3 separate regions of the Homo sapiens genome follow, and all the other regions are linked to region 1. The links are contacts of gene promoters, found by promoter capture Hi-C in blood cells and fetal thymus (Javierre and others, 2016). All regions are on one chromosome and are shown on one strand. Each heading gives the region's core, a stretch centred on a gene start or on the middle of the fragment in contact. The rest is flanking DNA. Distances are from core to core; before and after follow the strand shown.

Evidence for each region. The method cuts DNA at HindIII sites, captures the fragments that hold promoters and counts their contacts. A CHiCAGO score of 5 or more calls a contact.
Region 2: a fragment that was not itself captured here is called in contact with the fragment with the promoter of CAHM in region 1 in 1 of 17 cell types (fetal thymus); the score reaches 7.7 in fetal thymus.
Region 3: a contact is called between a fragment that was not itself captured here and the fragment with the promoter of CAHM in region 1, in 3 of 17 cell types (total CD4 T cells, non-activated CD4 T cells and activated CD4 T cells). The highest score is 10.9, in total CD4 T cells.

What each region holds. Positions count from the first base shown.
Region 1 is chr6:163,411,780-163,416,548 of GRCh38, forward strand. CAHM (colon adenocarcinoma hypermethylated) reads right to left here and starts at 2,171. Exons shown (of 1, transcript NR_037593.1): 1 at 1,286-2,171. It overlaps QKI (QKI, KH domain containing RNA binding), which reads left to right and starts at 2,939. Exons shown (of 8, transcript NM_006775.3): 1 at 2,939-3,556. The coding sequence starts at 3,415. It overlaps LOC124901234 (basic proline-rich protein-like), which reads left to right. Exons shown (of 4, transcript XM_047419614.1): 2 at 835-2,306; 3 at 2,470-2,889; 4 at 3,186-3,397. The coding sequence starts at 1,427. The coding sequence ends at 3,397. RefSeq lists silencers at 1,578-2,357, 2,448-3,267, 3,518-3,567, 3,768-3,957 and enhancers at 2,191-2,843, 2,844-3,497. The HindIII fragment of the contact is 4,236 bases long and covers 554-4,769 here.
Region 2 is chr6:113,853,950-113,858,718 of GRCh38, forward strand. MARCKS (myristoylated alanine rich protein kinase C substrate) reads left to right here and starts at 3,396. Exons shown (of 2, transcript NM_002356.7): 1 at 3,396-3,898. The coding sequence starts at 3,797. RefSeq lists a silencer at 1,151-1,360 and enhancers at 2,151-2,210, 2,231-2,280, 2,551-3,096, 3,097-3,640, 3,428-3,477. The HindIII fragment of the contact is 426 bases long and covers 1,839-2,264 here.
Region 3 is chr6:113,967,922-113,972,690 of GRCh38, forward strand. It overlaps HDAC2 (histone deacetylase 2), which reads right to left and starts at 3,227. Exons shown (of 14, transcript NM_001527.4): 1 at 2,936-3,227. The coding sequence starts at 2,987. It overlaps HDAC2-AS2 (HDAC2 and HS3ST5 antisense RNA 2), which reads left to right and starts at 1,780. Exons shown (of 10, transcript NR_125845.1): 1 at 1,780-2,357. RefSeq lists silencers at 2,368-2,687, 2,898-3,197, 3,139-3,582, 3,558-3,737 and an enhancer at 2,744-3,722. The HindIII fragment of the contact is 2,571 bases long and covers 837-3,407 here.

The DNA.
Region 1 (4,769 bases), core at 921-3,420:
GACTGTCAGGAAATGAGGTGATCTACATAGATTTGAAAAGGTAACCTGCCAGGCACGTGGCTCACGCCTGTAATCCCAGCACTTTGGGAGGTTGAGGGGGGCGGATCACCTGAGGTCGGGAGTTCGAGACCAGCCTGACCAACATGGAGAAACCCCCGTCTCTACTAAAAATACAAAATTAGCTAGGCGTGGTGGCGCATGCCTGTAATCCCAGCTGCTCGGGAGGCTGGGGCAGGAGAATCACTTGAACCGGGGAGGCAGAGGTTGCAGTGAGCCGAGATCGCGCCATTGCACTCCAGCCTGGGTGACAAGAGCGAAATTCTGTTTCAAAAAAAAGAAAATTAACACACAGTAGCTATTATCAAATGCTGTAACCGTAAGTGATTTAATACATAGGAAATGAAAATTGCCTATCATTGTTCTTTAATCTGGTTTAAGTGGTTGAGCCTTATGACACTGCCATTTCTATGGGTCAAAAATGGTGGAATATTGTCATAAAATTCAACCTGATTTAAAGGATAGGGCAAGGAAAAAAAGCAAAAAAAAAAAAAAAAGCTTTAGAATAAAATATAATTGGATTATAATCCCAGACACAGGACTCACTAGCTATATTCTTGGGCAAGTTACTTAACTTCATCTTTCTTGGGTTTCCCCTTATTTGTAAAATGGGGATAACAGTCTAACCTAAGCCCAAGTTGTACTGATGATTAAACGAGATATGCATGTAGGGCATTCAGCATAGTGCCTAGGAGCTTAATAAATAAGCAGGCCATTAAGAAGGGGATTGCATCTTTTACACTAGCAGCATCAAAACCTTGATTTTGATTTTTCTAGGTACTGAAACAGCCTTCATTACTTAGAGACCATAGCTTTTTTGCAAGTTACTATTCCCTGCATTTAGAAAGTTCATCTTTAAACAGGCAATTCAGTAAGTAAATATTCTATGGCTCTAAAACAGATACGGCTGTTGGAGACTTTAAAACATCTGACAGTTACATTTTTAATGTTGTCTACCAAGGCTATTACATTTCCTCTGTCAAAGTAACTTAATTTTAAAAACGAACTCTGTGCTTGTTAAACGAAAAGGCCAGAAGGCTACTGGCTACTCAGCGTTCATTTGAAATTCTTATAGTGCCTTCAGTACAATTCAAACTTAGAGGTGATTCTCACAATTCATGTGAAGCAACATTTTACAAAAAAAATCACCTACGTTCACTGTTAAGTCAGAAGACAGAATGATTAACAAAATCTCAGCCGCGAATTACTCTCACGATGGCCAACTGGATATTAAATAACTCTGCATTATTTTAATGGAATGTTATAAAGGATTTGCAACAAAATGCAGACGTAGATTTAGGGACTGCCGACTTCTATAGATCAAGGACTTCATTGGTGCAGCTGAGGAAATTCTTCCAAACAAGTCTAAATGTTGGAAATCCACCAAACTGCAGAGAAAGACCTCTTGCCTCCGTATTCTTTCTTCATCTGTAAAAATGTTGACTTCTGCTTTTCAGACTACGCGCACAGCCTCTTTATTTCCTACTGCGGCTTCATTCCCTCACGGAACACTGACGCCATCGCGAAGGAAGCATTTCGAGCACGACTGACGCTCCCCTTATTATTTGCTAAGCCGCTGCGCTCGGGTCTGGCTACGATTTGCTTTCAGAATAACGGGAAGGTGCAACAAGATCGCTTCCCTAGAGGCGCGTCGCCCGCGTGGCCCGGACCCCCCACGCCCGCCCGCCGCCCCGTGGGTGCGCACGCGTGTCCGCGCAGGCTTCCCGCCTGGCGAGTGCAAGGCTCCTCTCCGCCGTGCTGCTTTCCAGCCTCTCAGCAAATCACGAACACCGAAAGAAGCCACGGCGGCGACGGGAGGGGCGTCGCGCGTGCTTCCCTCGGCGACAAAGCGGGAGCCGGGCGCGCCGGCCGAGGGCGCCCGGCGCAGAGTCCCGCAGAGGCGGACGCCGCGGCACGCGCCTCGAAAAGCCTCAAACTCTTATCCTCGGCTCTCCCGCCCCACCTCCGCCCCGCAGCCAAGACCCGCGCCGTGGCGGGCCCGACGGCCAAGGAAAGCCCACCAGCCCTCCGCACCGTGGGCGACGGGCCAAGACCCGGCCCTAAACGGCCAGACCCAGCCCCTAGTCGGCTGCCGCCCCCGCCCCACGCAGGCGCGCTCCGGGGCCCTCCCCTCCCCCACCGCGCGCTCGCGGGGCCCGACGGGGGCGGAGCGACCCTCGGAAGGGGCGTGGCGACCGGGCTCGACGCGCGCACGCGCTCTGGAGCCCCACGGCTACGTGTCGGGCCACGTGATGCCCACCCCGAAAGTCCCCCGTGAAGCAACAGGACGTTAAAAAAAAATTTCTCTTCTGCGGGGTGGATAAGAGGTTCTGAAAAAACTATAGTAACGGGAGGCGAGGCGGAGGCAGCGCTGGCGCGTCCCGCTGGAATTCCTCTCGCCTGCCGCGCCAGCCCCGACCGCGCCCGCAGCCCCACCCGCCCCGTGCCGTGGAAAGCCCCGCGCCCCCCCCGCGGCCGTCGGCCCCGCAGCCCACACCCACCCGCCCCGGGCGCCCCGCACGGCGGCGACCCAGTCCTTGCGCCCAGGCCCGCCGAGCGCCGCAGTCCGTCACACTCCCGTTGCCCCCGTCGCCCGCCCCGCCGGGGAGGCAGGGAGGAGGGGGCGCGGCGCCGGCGGCTGCCCCGGTCGCGGGGCGGCGGGCAGCAGGCAGCGGGAGCGCGCCGGCCGGGACCCGCTAACGGCCGCCCTGCGCGGCCCCGCCCGCCGCCCGCCCCCGGCCCTCCCCGCGCCGCTGCCCCTCCCCCCGCCGCCGCCGCTGCTGCCGCCGCCGCTGGCAGCGCCGCCTGAACTGAGGCGAACTCCGCCGCCAAGTGAGTGAGGAGGAGGAGGAGGAGAAGGAGGAGGAGGAAGAGGAGGAGCGCAGTCGGAGCGCGGCGGCAGCGGCAGAGGCGCCGCGGCGGGGACCAGCCCAGAGAGACCCCCCGAGCCCGCGGCACAGGCGGCGGCGGCGCTGAGCGGGCTCGACCAGCCGAGCGAGCGGCGGCCCCGGCTCCTCCTCGTCCGGCGCCAGCAGCCCGCGCCCCGCGCCCGCACTCGGCCAGCCGAGACCCGCCTCCCGCCCGCCCGCCGGCCTCGTGAGGGACGCGCCGAGCCGGGCGGCCGAGAGCGGCGGCGGCTGGGAGCGCGTCGGGCCCGGGCGGAAAGTGCCTGCGGGGGGCGGGCGAGCGCGCGGTGCCGGCCGCCCCGGGGCTCGGCGCGGGAGCCAGAGCGGGAGCCGGCGCGGAGCGGGACGCCGGGTCCCGAGCGGCCCGCGGCCGGGGCTCGCCCCCGCCCCTCCCTCCTCTCCGGCGGCGGCGGCGGCGGCGGCGGGCGGAGTGAGCTGCGGAGCCTGGAATATGGTCGGGGAAATGGAAACGAAGGAGAAGCCGAAGCCCACCCCAGATTACCTGATGCAGCTGATGAACGACAAGAAGCTCATGAGCAGCCTGCCCAACTTCTGCGGGATCTTCAACCACCTCGAGCGGCTGCTGGACGAAGGTGAGCGTCTCCAGGGCCCCGGCCCCGGCCCGACCCCCGCCGGGGCGGCCCCTTTCCCCGCTTGGGATGGTGGGGAGGGCGGGAAGGTCACGGCCGGGCGGGACCGAGCGCCGGGGGGACTGGGAGGCCAGGAGGGCGCACAAAGGAGGTGCCGGGCCGGGCTTGCGGCGGGCGGGCGGGCCGGGGTGGACCCGCCGGTGCCGGACGCCCCCTGCCCGGCCGGGACCCCGCGCCGCTGGCGTCCAAGTTGGCGCGTTGCGGAGGGCTGCGGGGTGAGCCCTGCGGCCCCTCTAGCTTCGGCGGTCACATTTCCGAGAGGTCGGCGGGGGCTGCGCGGACTCGGTGGTCCTCGCCGAGCCCTCCCGAGAGCAGGCCCACGCCGCGCCGCCGGCCTGGAGGACGCGTGTGCCCGGCGCGGGCCCCGCTCCTCCGCTCGGCCTCCCGAGCCTGCTCTGCGCGGACCCCCACCGCCCCGCGTTCGGGAGCTCTCCCCTCCCGTGAGGACTAAAGCGGGGTTTCGTGGTTGGGGAGTTGGTGCAGCTGTTCAATACTAAGTGGAAGTCAGTGTGGGGCTCGTTAGTTTAAAGAAATTCCGTAGGAGACCGAAATTATGCTGGCGTAGCCGACAAGGAGGACTAAGTGACGGCGAAAAGCACTTTTTTCCCTTTTGTTTGGGGAAGCGAGAACTGTTAGGGAGTTGAACTTCACTTTTCGGGGGTGGGGGGGGGGGGGGTGGAGTGCGAAATAACGCGATGACAGATCGGAGCGCAGCCTGAGTTAGAAGAACTTGGGCGGAGGGTTTGCTCCCGGGGACGCAGCCGCCTGAGTTTGTAGGACAGGGTTTCGAGACGTTTGGAAAGGGCGAAATAAAATTGAGCCAAAGTTTCCAAAAAGCTGTATGGAGCGCTGTGGGGAGTGAAGAATGACAAGAAGATTAATGTTGACCAACTTTGGAATTTCCTTAAGAAGTTCTCATAGCAGTACCTGAAGTATTAATTTCTAGTAGCTGTGGGTTTCTGTGGACGCCTAGAGAAAAAAAAGACCACAAAAAAAGTCTGTTTCGAAAATCGACTGGCCAGGAGTTTGTTTGTTTTTTTTTCCTGCTTAGAGGCACCACCGGAGGACTGTGTAAAGGAAACTGAAAACTACAGGTTGAAGAGATGAACAATGGAGTTTAGATTTTTCGCAAGAATTTCGAGATTTTAAAAATAGA
Region 2 (4,769 bases), core at 802-3,301, about 50 Mb before region 1:
TCGCACTTAGGAGGACCTTAATAAATACTTTAAGAATGAATGACTGACCTACTGAGTGAATCTGTGCCATCAAGGGAAGATGGCAGCACTGGCAGTGGTGGAAAAAGCCAGGACTCAGAATCATCAAGGGGGCTGAGCTCTATTCGTGGCTCTACCATCTGAGAAATCTGGCAACGCTCTGGTGCCTATTTCTTCATCGTTGAGAGGGGGAAGCCAGGTGCTCCAGTTCAACTTCACTAGATGATCTTCTAAATTGGAAGCCCCTGAAGGTCAGAGACTGAGTTTATATTGTTCAATGATATGAAAACAAGATCTAGATTATTGTGTTTGGCACACTGGGCCCTCAAGATTTTGTGGAATGGTCTCTAAAATTCTTTCCAACGCTAACATTTTGCAGAAAAATAACAGGTCTCTTAAATAAATTGCTTTTTTTCTAAAAAGAAACCTATACACCGATTATTATTATCTTGCAAATATGTTAGGGCAGGGTGAAAGTGGAGTACAAATAAAAAATAAATGACCGTTTCTTCCTGCTGATTTGGTTACAGACACCGGTTTTACATTTTCACTATGAACTCTTGGGTTCTTTAGTCATATTTATATAAACACTTTTGGCGCTTTATTTGAAACCTTTAACTCTGCGTGTGAGAACACCAAACTCCTGAGGAGCGAGCCACACTTGCACTGTACTGCTTCCCTACTAGTTCCACGTTCTTGGCCTTCCTTCCCTGTCATTATGCAGGTTTTCAAGAAGAACCACAACCGTTTCCCATTTCCCAGCCCGTTCTTCCTCACCCATCCTCCGCCGGGACCCCCTTCCCTATAAGCTGAAGAAATCCCTTGCTTGGACGACGCTAGTCGCTGGGGGAGGTTGGGGAAAGGGTGGCCCAGCCCTCAGCGGCCGCCGGCAGCGCCCCCAAGGAGCCTCCGCCTGCCACTTGCTGGGGACTGTCGGCTTTCCAGCTACCGTAGAATGCGCTTGCGTATCAAAAAGAAATCATCTTTCTACTGTAAACTAGAGACCGAGACCGCTCGTGGGGAGGGAATCTATGTGTTTACACTTTTTTTTTTTTTTTTTTTTTTTTTTGCCCCGGAGCTGCTGCGGGAATTGATTGGCTCCCTTGCGCCCCTGACGCTGGGACTGTCCCCCCGCCGCGCCCCGCCCGCACCCCGCCCGCACCCCGCCCCCTCGCGCGGCCATCTGCTTCGCAGTCTGTCTCCCAGTCTCTCACTCGGCCCCTCTCCCCTCCACCACTCCCAGCCCCCGTCTCCCCCACCGTCACCCCCCAGCGCCGGCTCCGCCTCTTCCCCCTCCCCGGCCCAGTGCTCCGAATCTTCCCCGGCCGTTGCCAGGGAGACCAGCCGATACCAGGCAAATAGGCGTACCAGAAAGAAAAGGGGGGAAAGCTACACGGCAGCCTGGTAACAAAGGAGCAATAAAAGCAGCCCCCAAATGGAGGGCTAAGGACGCGTCTGGGAGAAAATCTGAAAGCGAGCTAGCAGTCACCCCAATTTAAAATAGGAGGGGGATGCGGAGGAAGGGGCATGATTCACGTTGGGGGTGGGGGGAAATCAAGAGCCTTAAATGGGCTTTTGGGAATCGCCTGGATGGTGGTGTCGGATCAGCCCAGTTGGCTTTTCAAGTTGGAACTGCTAATACAAGGGATTTGCGTCCATCCTGGCGGCTGGGGTCGTGGGCCAGGCCAGCGGGCTCTCTTAAGGGTAATAACACGTTTGCTGGCAAGATGCATTTCTACGGAAACGTCTTTACATCAGCTCTGGGGAATATGACCATGGTCGAATAATGCATCTGAAGGAACTGGACAGTGAGAAGACGAAGCTTCACGTAACAATGTTCAGCTTGGTGATTTTTAAAGCAACGCTTGAACAAAGAGTTACTGGCTTGAACCAACCGTCTTTTTCACTCAGAGTGTGACCTATTTCCCTACAATGAGCAGAAAATAAAACTGTTTGAGAATTCAGAGCCAGCACCAGGAGAAATGAACCATTCCCTCGACTGCTTCTCACCTTCATAAGCGAAAGATTATTCCTTGCAAGATCACCAAATGTAAACGAGAAAAGGTGGTCTGATTTTGCCACGAGTGAAAACTTTGGGAAGAAAATGCTTATTAAGCTGTTTCCTTGGTTCCCCTCACCCCTCATACTTTAAGTCAGTGCCTTGTCTCTCACGCACAAAAAGCGTCTGGTACTTCGGTGGCAAGGAGTGCAGTGACAGATGGAGGTATCCTGTGTACCATTATAGAAGGTTTTCCTCTAACCCAAGTTAGACTTGGAGAGCTCAGGGATCTTGCTATCTCTCAACATACAGAACATTTCTCCTTAGAACTGCAATCCGGTTTAGAATGTCATCGTTGCTGCTGCCTCCCTTCCTTTCAGGAGCACATTCGCCTGCGTGCGCACTCACACACACGTTCAAAAAGAGTCCATTCGATTCTGGCAGTAGGCTGAAAACGATCCATATTGACGCGAATAACATCCCAACTGTAAATATGGATTCGTCTACTCGAGGCTGTGTCTCATTTCACCATAGAGGAAAATTATGTCATTTAAAACAGTGATAAAACGCGAAGAGTTTCGATCTTCTGTAAATGGCTCTCACTTTGAATTGTGGGGGAAAAAAATCACTAATTGGGAATAGCCAGAGAAGGGGGAATTTGTTGAGCGCCCAAGGCCAATCTCAAAATATTTTATTTCATGCCAATGTGGGAGAGGGAAGGGAGTGTGGCTTCGCTGTTTGCCGCTTTTGCATTTTCCACATCTGGCCTACAGACCTAATTCTAACTTGCGATCTCGCTTGATGAAATTCGATCTTCGTGGTTTAAATACCTTTCAATTTGGGACGATTTAACCATTGCAGCAGTTCAAAAAACAAACCCTGAGCATTATCTGTAAAACCAATATGGAAAAAAGAAAGAAAACATGCTGCAAACACACAAATCGCAACCATTGTCTTTAACACTCGCATACACACACATACACATAAACACACGGAAAGATGGGGGAGGGGAGCGAGTGGAGAGAGAGAGACACACGGATATAGACCGACGAGAGTCAATGCGAGTCAAGTTAACGCTTTCTCCGCCCCGATGCACAAGTACCCCCCTCCCGTGTTAATTAATTCCAAACAAAGCAAGCCAATCAAGAAATGCATTATTATTTTCAAGCAGAGAGAGACGAGTGCCATGTATTTTTTAATTGATTTATTTATTTGGAGGACATTAATTCTCGGTCTGAGGCTGATTTTCAAACCGTTTGCAAAGCGCGGCTCCATTGTTCGCCAGGCGCGCAGACCCCGCCCCCTGCTTTGTGTGCGGCGCGCGGATTGGCCGACGCGCGCGGGGGCCGCGTCAGCGCCCGCGAGCCCATTCATCTGTGCACTTGGGCGTTGGACCCCGCATCTTATTAGCAACCAGGGAGATTTCTCCATTTTCCTCTTGTCTACAGTGCGGCTACAAATCTGGGATTTTTTTATTACTTCTTTTTTTTTCGAACTACACTTGGGCTCCTTTTTTTGTGCTCGACTTTTCCACCCTTTTTCCCTCCCTCCTGTGCTGCTGCTTTTTGATCTCTTCGACTAAAATTTTTTTATCCGGAGTGTATTTAATCGGTTCTGTTCTGTCCTCTCCACCACCCCCACCCCCCTCCCTCCGGTGTGTGTGCCGCTGCCGCTGTTGCCGCCGCCGCTGCTGCTGCTGCTCGCCCCGTCGTTACACCAACCCGAGGCTCTTTGTTTCCCCTCTTGGATCTGTTGAGTTTCTTTGTTGAAGAAGCCAGCATGGGTGCCCAGTTCTCCAAGACCGCAGCGAAGGGAGAAGCCGCCGCGGAGAGGCCTGGGGAGGCGGCTGTGGCCTCGTCGCCTTCCAAAGCGAACGGACAGGTAAATTCTACCTGTGGTTGTGGTCATTTATTTCGTGTCTTTCTCTCCTTCCCTCCTGGTGGCTCCCAAGGCTCATTCGTGGAGAGGAGTGTGGCTGGATTCTAGTCTGAAAGTTGAATGGAAATGGATAGCCTAAATTGTGGATTTTTCATAGCCGGGGTCCCCCCACACCAAAGGAGTGGTTCCTTAGAATCCTGGAGAATTCTTGAGTAGACGGGAGGAAAGGAGTGATAAATCGTCTAAAATGGCGTGGTTTGGAGATTGGCAGAACGTGACTAGCTAGGTGCCCTCCTTCCCCCGCCCCCAGCCAGGTTTCATTTGTGTTTGGGGGCACAATGGTGTTTGGGTGTCTCTCGGGTTTGTTGTCGAAGCTGGATTGTCTTCGAGATTTCTGAACTGGTGGTGTGATTGTGTGTGGCGGGGGGGGGAGTCGGGAAAGGGGGGCGCAATGGGGATGGTGGTGGAGAAAGGCGAGGAGGGAAAGGCTGTCTTATTGTATGCCGCGGCGGCGTGCCCTGGGTTCTTGGAAAGGTGGCTGGCTGGGGCCAGACAGAGGGCTTCGGTACCTTTTGATGAGGCTTTCCCACTGTCCTAAATCTTTATTCGTAGCTGTCTGTGGAATTACACATCCATTTGATTTTTAAATGGTATCTGTGGGGTGGGAACACTCGGTGGGTCCTTTAAGAACCTTTCCAGATGGTCAAAAAGAGGCGGTTCGTGCCTTTCGGTCGGGATTGTTCTTGTGCGTGGCGCCTCGACCACCCGCGAGGGGCCGCCCGGCGCTGCCCGGACCCAGGCAGATAGCCACGATTGGGTGGACCCGAGAGGTCGGCCATGGGTGGCTGCTTCGCAAACACTGGGCACCCACCAC
Region 3 (4,769 bases), core at 872-3,371, about 49 Mb before region 1:
TAACTTCTCTTACTTTTCTTCAAAGGTTTAAGGATACCTAATCCATCAATGTCTGAAGGTTCCCTTGGGACCAACGTTTCAGTGACCTAAAGGGTTACCTGAAGATTACATAACGTGCAGAGAACAATATGTATATATTTAAAAGTTCTTTCATTAAGATGCAAACAGCCTCAGTGGCAGACATTCTGTGTGGCCAAGAGGCTCCGTGTGCCTAACAGCCCCAGGAAGCCTAAAGGTAGGATTCCTATGGTTATAGAATTTGCTACTTCCGTCCTTTTCTTTTTCACTCACTTTCTTCCTTCTACTTCCTTTACCAAGAAGTTAAAACCATCTAACCTAGGCTAGCAGATAATTCAGACCCTATTACTACAGATATAACCCATTCCCAATCCAATCCATGTTATATACCTTAAAGTCACGATTCTTTGATACAGAAGCTCCTTTCCTTGCATTCTCTTCTCACAATAAAAAAAGAATTAGTATTGCTACTTTTGTAAGCTGACAAAACAATGTTCTCTGGTAATAAAAATATAAGTTTTTGGATGAGGTCAGCACACTATCACATATTAATAATTAGCATAATATAAACATTAATAATCTCTGCAAAATATTTTAATTCCCTCCCACAAAAATTAAAAGAGTATGTGAAACATAAGCAACTAGGAACTCCACTTTAACAAACGAGTCACAGACAAAAGACAAAATAACCCACCAGAGATTTCCAAACTATCAGCTATTCACTTGTTGCTGGCCATCACGTAAGCAGGTGAATGGGCTACAATAAAGTATCATATTAAGTCACAATCACAAGACAAATATTTCCACCCTACTTATCAAGCTTGCATCCTTTCCCGGGTACCCGTGCCTGCTCCCATTCCCACAACGAAGGTTATCATAAATGGGCCCAGGACAAGAGCGCTGTTCAGAAACTGCTACTCAAGTGTACCCTCCTGGTTCTAGGGTTCCATTGTGGTGACAACAAATTACAAGCAGCTTACTTCCTCAGAGCCCATCACTACCAACACCAACTGACAGCTTCGAGAAGGACCTCAGTACCACTTTCCCTAACCAAAATTTTCCTCTTTACTCCAAGCCCTGACAAGGATAAATCTCTAAACTTTAGAAACAATGTAATTTTACAAATTAACTTATACGCAGGGTTACTTCCTTTCCAATTTGATCAGGGAATGCAGGGCAAGAATAACCCAAAATATGCAATGTAAATCATGTTGAAATTAAAATGTATTTCCATCTCCACCCCTCCACGATGGCATAATTTCAAATCAACTTATATAATGCATATCTAGTCCTCTGAAAAATCATTTTTAAAAGTAGGGCTGTTATTATTCTGTCCTAGCTATCGCAGATCAATTTAGATTTGTTCTGTAAGATTTCAGATTTTCCCCAAATGACACAGGTGGTTATTTTATATGTATCAGTCATTAAAAGATTAATCCTTTTTAACTAAAAAGAGACAGTACGGTCATTTACAAGTTAAAGTAGATTTATTCTGAGCTGGTGCTCTGGGGTCTTACTTCTCTAAAATTTTGTGATTTACAATACACCACATGTAGGAAACAGCTTCCAAAATTTGTATTGCTTCCTACAAATCAGACAGGACTTTCAGGAGAAGGAGCCTAGGATAGATTCTCTGTTAAATTTTGGAATCCCTTCTCTCAAGAGTAACCTACTATAAACTATTTACCAAGCCTTTGTGAAATCTGTATAACAGGTTACTACTCCATTGAGCAAGAAAACACAGGAAACAGGATTCGAAGATTTAATGTTACTGCTCATACTCCAAATTATAGAATGCTTAAGATAATTAAATTATCTGACTTTTATAATTCACTACACGGTGACCTCAAATTTACCTCATTAGAATATTTAGTACTTCTGCACTTCTCCCACTTCTCAAAGTTTTCCCATACCAGGATTCCCCACCACCTAGGAACAGCCTTTGCAAGATACCAATGCTCTCTAAATCCCCAAAGCAGGGTCTATTTCCTGATCGAACAAAGAGCAACAAAGAAGTGGGTGGTAACCACCTCTCTGAGGCAAGCCAGGACCCATGGAGTCTGATCTACAACACAAGCAGTAGCAGTTCCACATCTCCCTACCACCTCTTATTTCCTACGAAGTCTTTCTGCCTGAAACTGGAAAACCCGAACTATTATTGAGGAAGTGAAGCCCTTCCATTTGAATCCTGAGAAAGACGCGCTCAAAGAACCCAGCGAACAAAGGAGAGGGTTGGAGCCCACGCAAAACATGGGTGTGATAAAGCCACACGCGACCTGAGCCCCCACCCTCAGTAACTACTCTCCAGCGCCCACCGGGAGGAGGGGTCCGGGGAAAGGGTAAGCCGAGGAAGGAGAAGACGCTCCGGCCAGACCGAACGCAGGGTAGGGGAGGCGAGCAGGCGAGGAGGAGGGAAGGGGACGGGAGGGGCGGAGCTCTCGCGGCCGCGGGGCTTTGTGTAGAGTCAAGGCCGGGATAGAAATTTTGCCTCGCGGGGGACGGGTCGAGGGGGTAGGAGGCCGACGCGGGGCACCCCAAACCTGCGTTGCCACGAATGGTGGGCGGGAGAAGGGAGAGAATGGGCCGCCCCCTTCGCCGCCGCCACCACCAAGGCGGGGTAGGCCGGCGCCGTCCCCAGCGGCGGCCACCTTCGAGGCTGCGGACTGCACGGCCGAAGGGGGAGAGGCAGGAGACAAGACGGGCGGGCCCCCTGATTCCCGCCCGCAGGAACCGCGGGGGCTGCGCCAGGAAGAGGGTCTCGTTCTAACTGTGCCGGGCCGGGAACGGGTTAAGATGCGGCCAAATGTCGGTCCCTCCTCCTTCCCACCCCTCAGCCCCGGCGCCCACTCGCGACGGCAGCCGCGGAACCCAGCGCCCGGCCCCGCGCGCCCACCCCGACACCGGCCCGGCCGCTCACCGTCGTAGTAGTAGCAGACTTTTTTTTTGCCGCCTCCTTGACTGTACGCCATGGGCTCCCCGGCCACCGCCGCCACCGGGCTCCTCCTCCTGCTGCTGCTGCTGCTGCTGCTGCCGCCGCGGCTCGGCCGGGAGAGAAAAGGGCTGAGGGAAACGTGGGGGCGATAGTCCCGCGGGGAAGGGCAGGCCGGTGGGAGGAGAGGAGGGGGCGCCGGGAAGGCTCGGTACCACCCGGCAGAGGTGCCGAAAGCTCGGAATCGGAGGTGGCAGCGGCACCAACTCGCGAGGAGGGGGCCACCAAACCACCTCAGGAGGCCGCAGGGAGGTGAGCGCATCCACTGCGGCCTCCACGGGGGAGGAAGGGGCACGGCTGGAGAAGGAGGCCGTTTCGGGCTCGAGGTTAGAGGCCCTGTTAGGGTGAACAACCTGCGCAAGGCGGCGCCATACACAGTGTTAAAATGAGGAAGAAGACAAGCTTTCGCTGCGCAAGTAGATCCAGGGAGCGTGCAGCCGGGTGGACGTTCTCCCCCTCAGGTCTGCGCGCAGTGGTTGCGCCTGTCCCCGAGCCTGCGCAGTCGGCGCCTCGTAGCCTTGGCGGTCTGGACCCCTCCTCGGCGTCCCACGCTGCTCCCCTCCCCCACTGTCGCGAAGCTCCCGCCCAAGCCGACCACGTGCCGCGAGCCCGGCGGGGAGAGCCCACTCCCGCGCCCCTTCCGGGCCCACTACCCCGCCGGGCTGTGGCCCATCGCCCCAGTGCCTGGTAGCCTAGTTTTCTCGTTTGTCGTTTGTTCACTTATTTATTATTATTATTATTATTTTGACTCGTAATGGGTATGAGGTGTAAGGGGGCCTATTACGGATGTTAAGGGGAGAGGGCACCGCTCGGGTTTTAATAAGCATCTGTGGAGCTCATTTATAAGGTACAGTTCTAAGCACTTGCATTTATAATATATTCCATTGATAATCTATTTATAATATTTAATCTCATTTAAGACTCTCAACAACTCTAGGAGGTAAGTGGCAATTGTACTCCTTCTTTATAGGTGGAGGCAGATTAAGGAACTTGTTCTTACTGCTAACTGATAAGTCTGGAGGTTTGAACTCATTCTGCAAACTCCACGCACCCTAGCTGTTCCACTCTGCAGCAATGCTGCTGGCTAGACACTGGAAGATTGGAGCAGAAAGACTTTCGAAACTCTTGGAGGTTATGAATACAAGTGTTCCTCTGTTAAATAAATCCACATTTATCAAGTACCTACCTTAAGCCAGCCACCTTGCAGGTGAGGGCTGGAGGCTAACAGCCTGTTTTATAGCACCCAATCCCAGTTATATAAAATTGCTATCCCTACCCCCCAAATACACCCCTATTAAAAAAAAAAAAAGGCTGTATTGATGCTGGAATTTAAGAGCCACTACCAAAAATACCCCTTTTAATTTGCTGTTTGACTTCAAAATCCCGAAAGTGTTCATGCTTAAAGCAGCAATTTTCCCCAACCTCACCCCCAAGAGATTTAGAAAAAGTTAAGTCCAGGGTGGCCCCTGCCCTCCCTCCGCCCCCTCCTCTGTATTTTTAACAAGACCCCAGGTGACTGATGAAGTTGCTAGAGAAATTACGGTGAGTGAAACACTGGCCTAGAGGTAAAGTTAATTGACCTTCTAAGTTGTGCTCTATCAAGTACAAAATCAACTTGGAAGATTCTGAGAACAGAATAAGTGAATTTAGTAGAAGTGAATGTTCTTCCCCAGGGCCAACACAATGAAGTCTGAAATGACACTTTGTTTCTTTTGGGAAGACTTCCCTGACCCCTCTCCCGCCAAGACTGTTCTCCATGCCA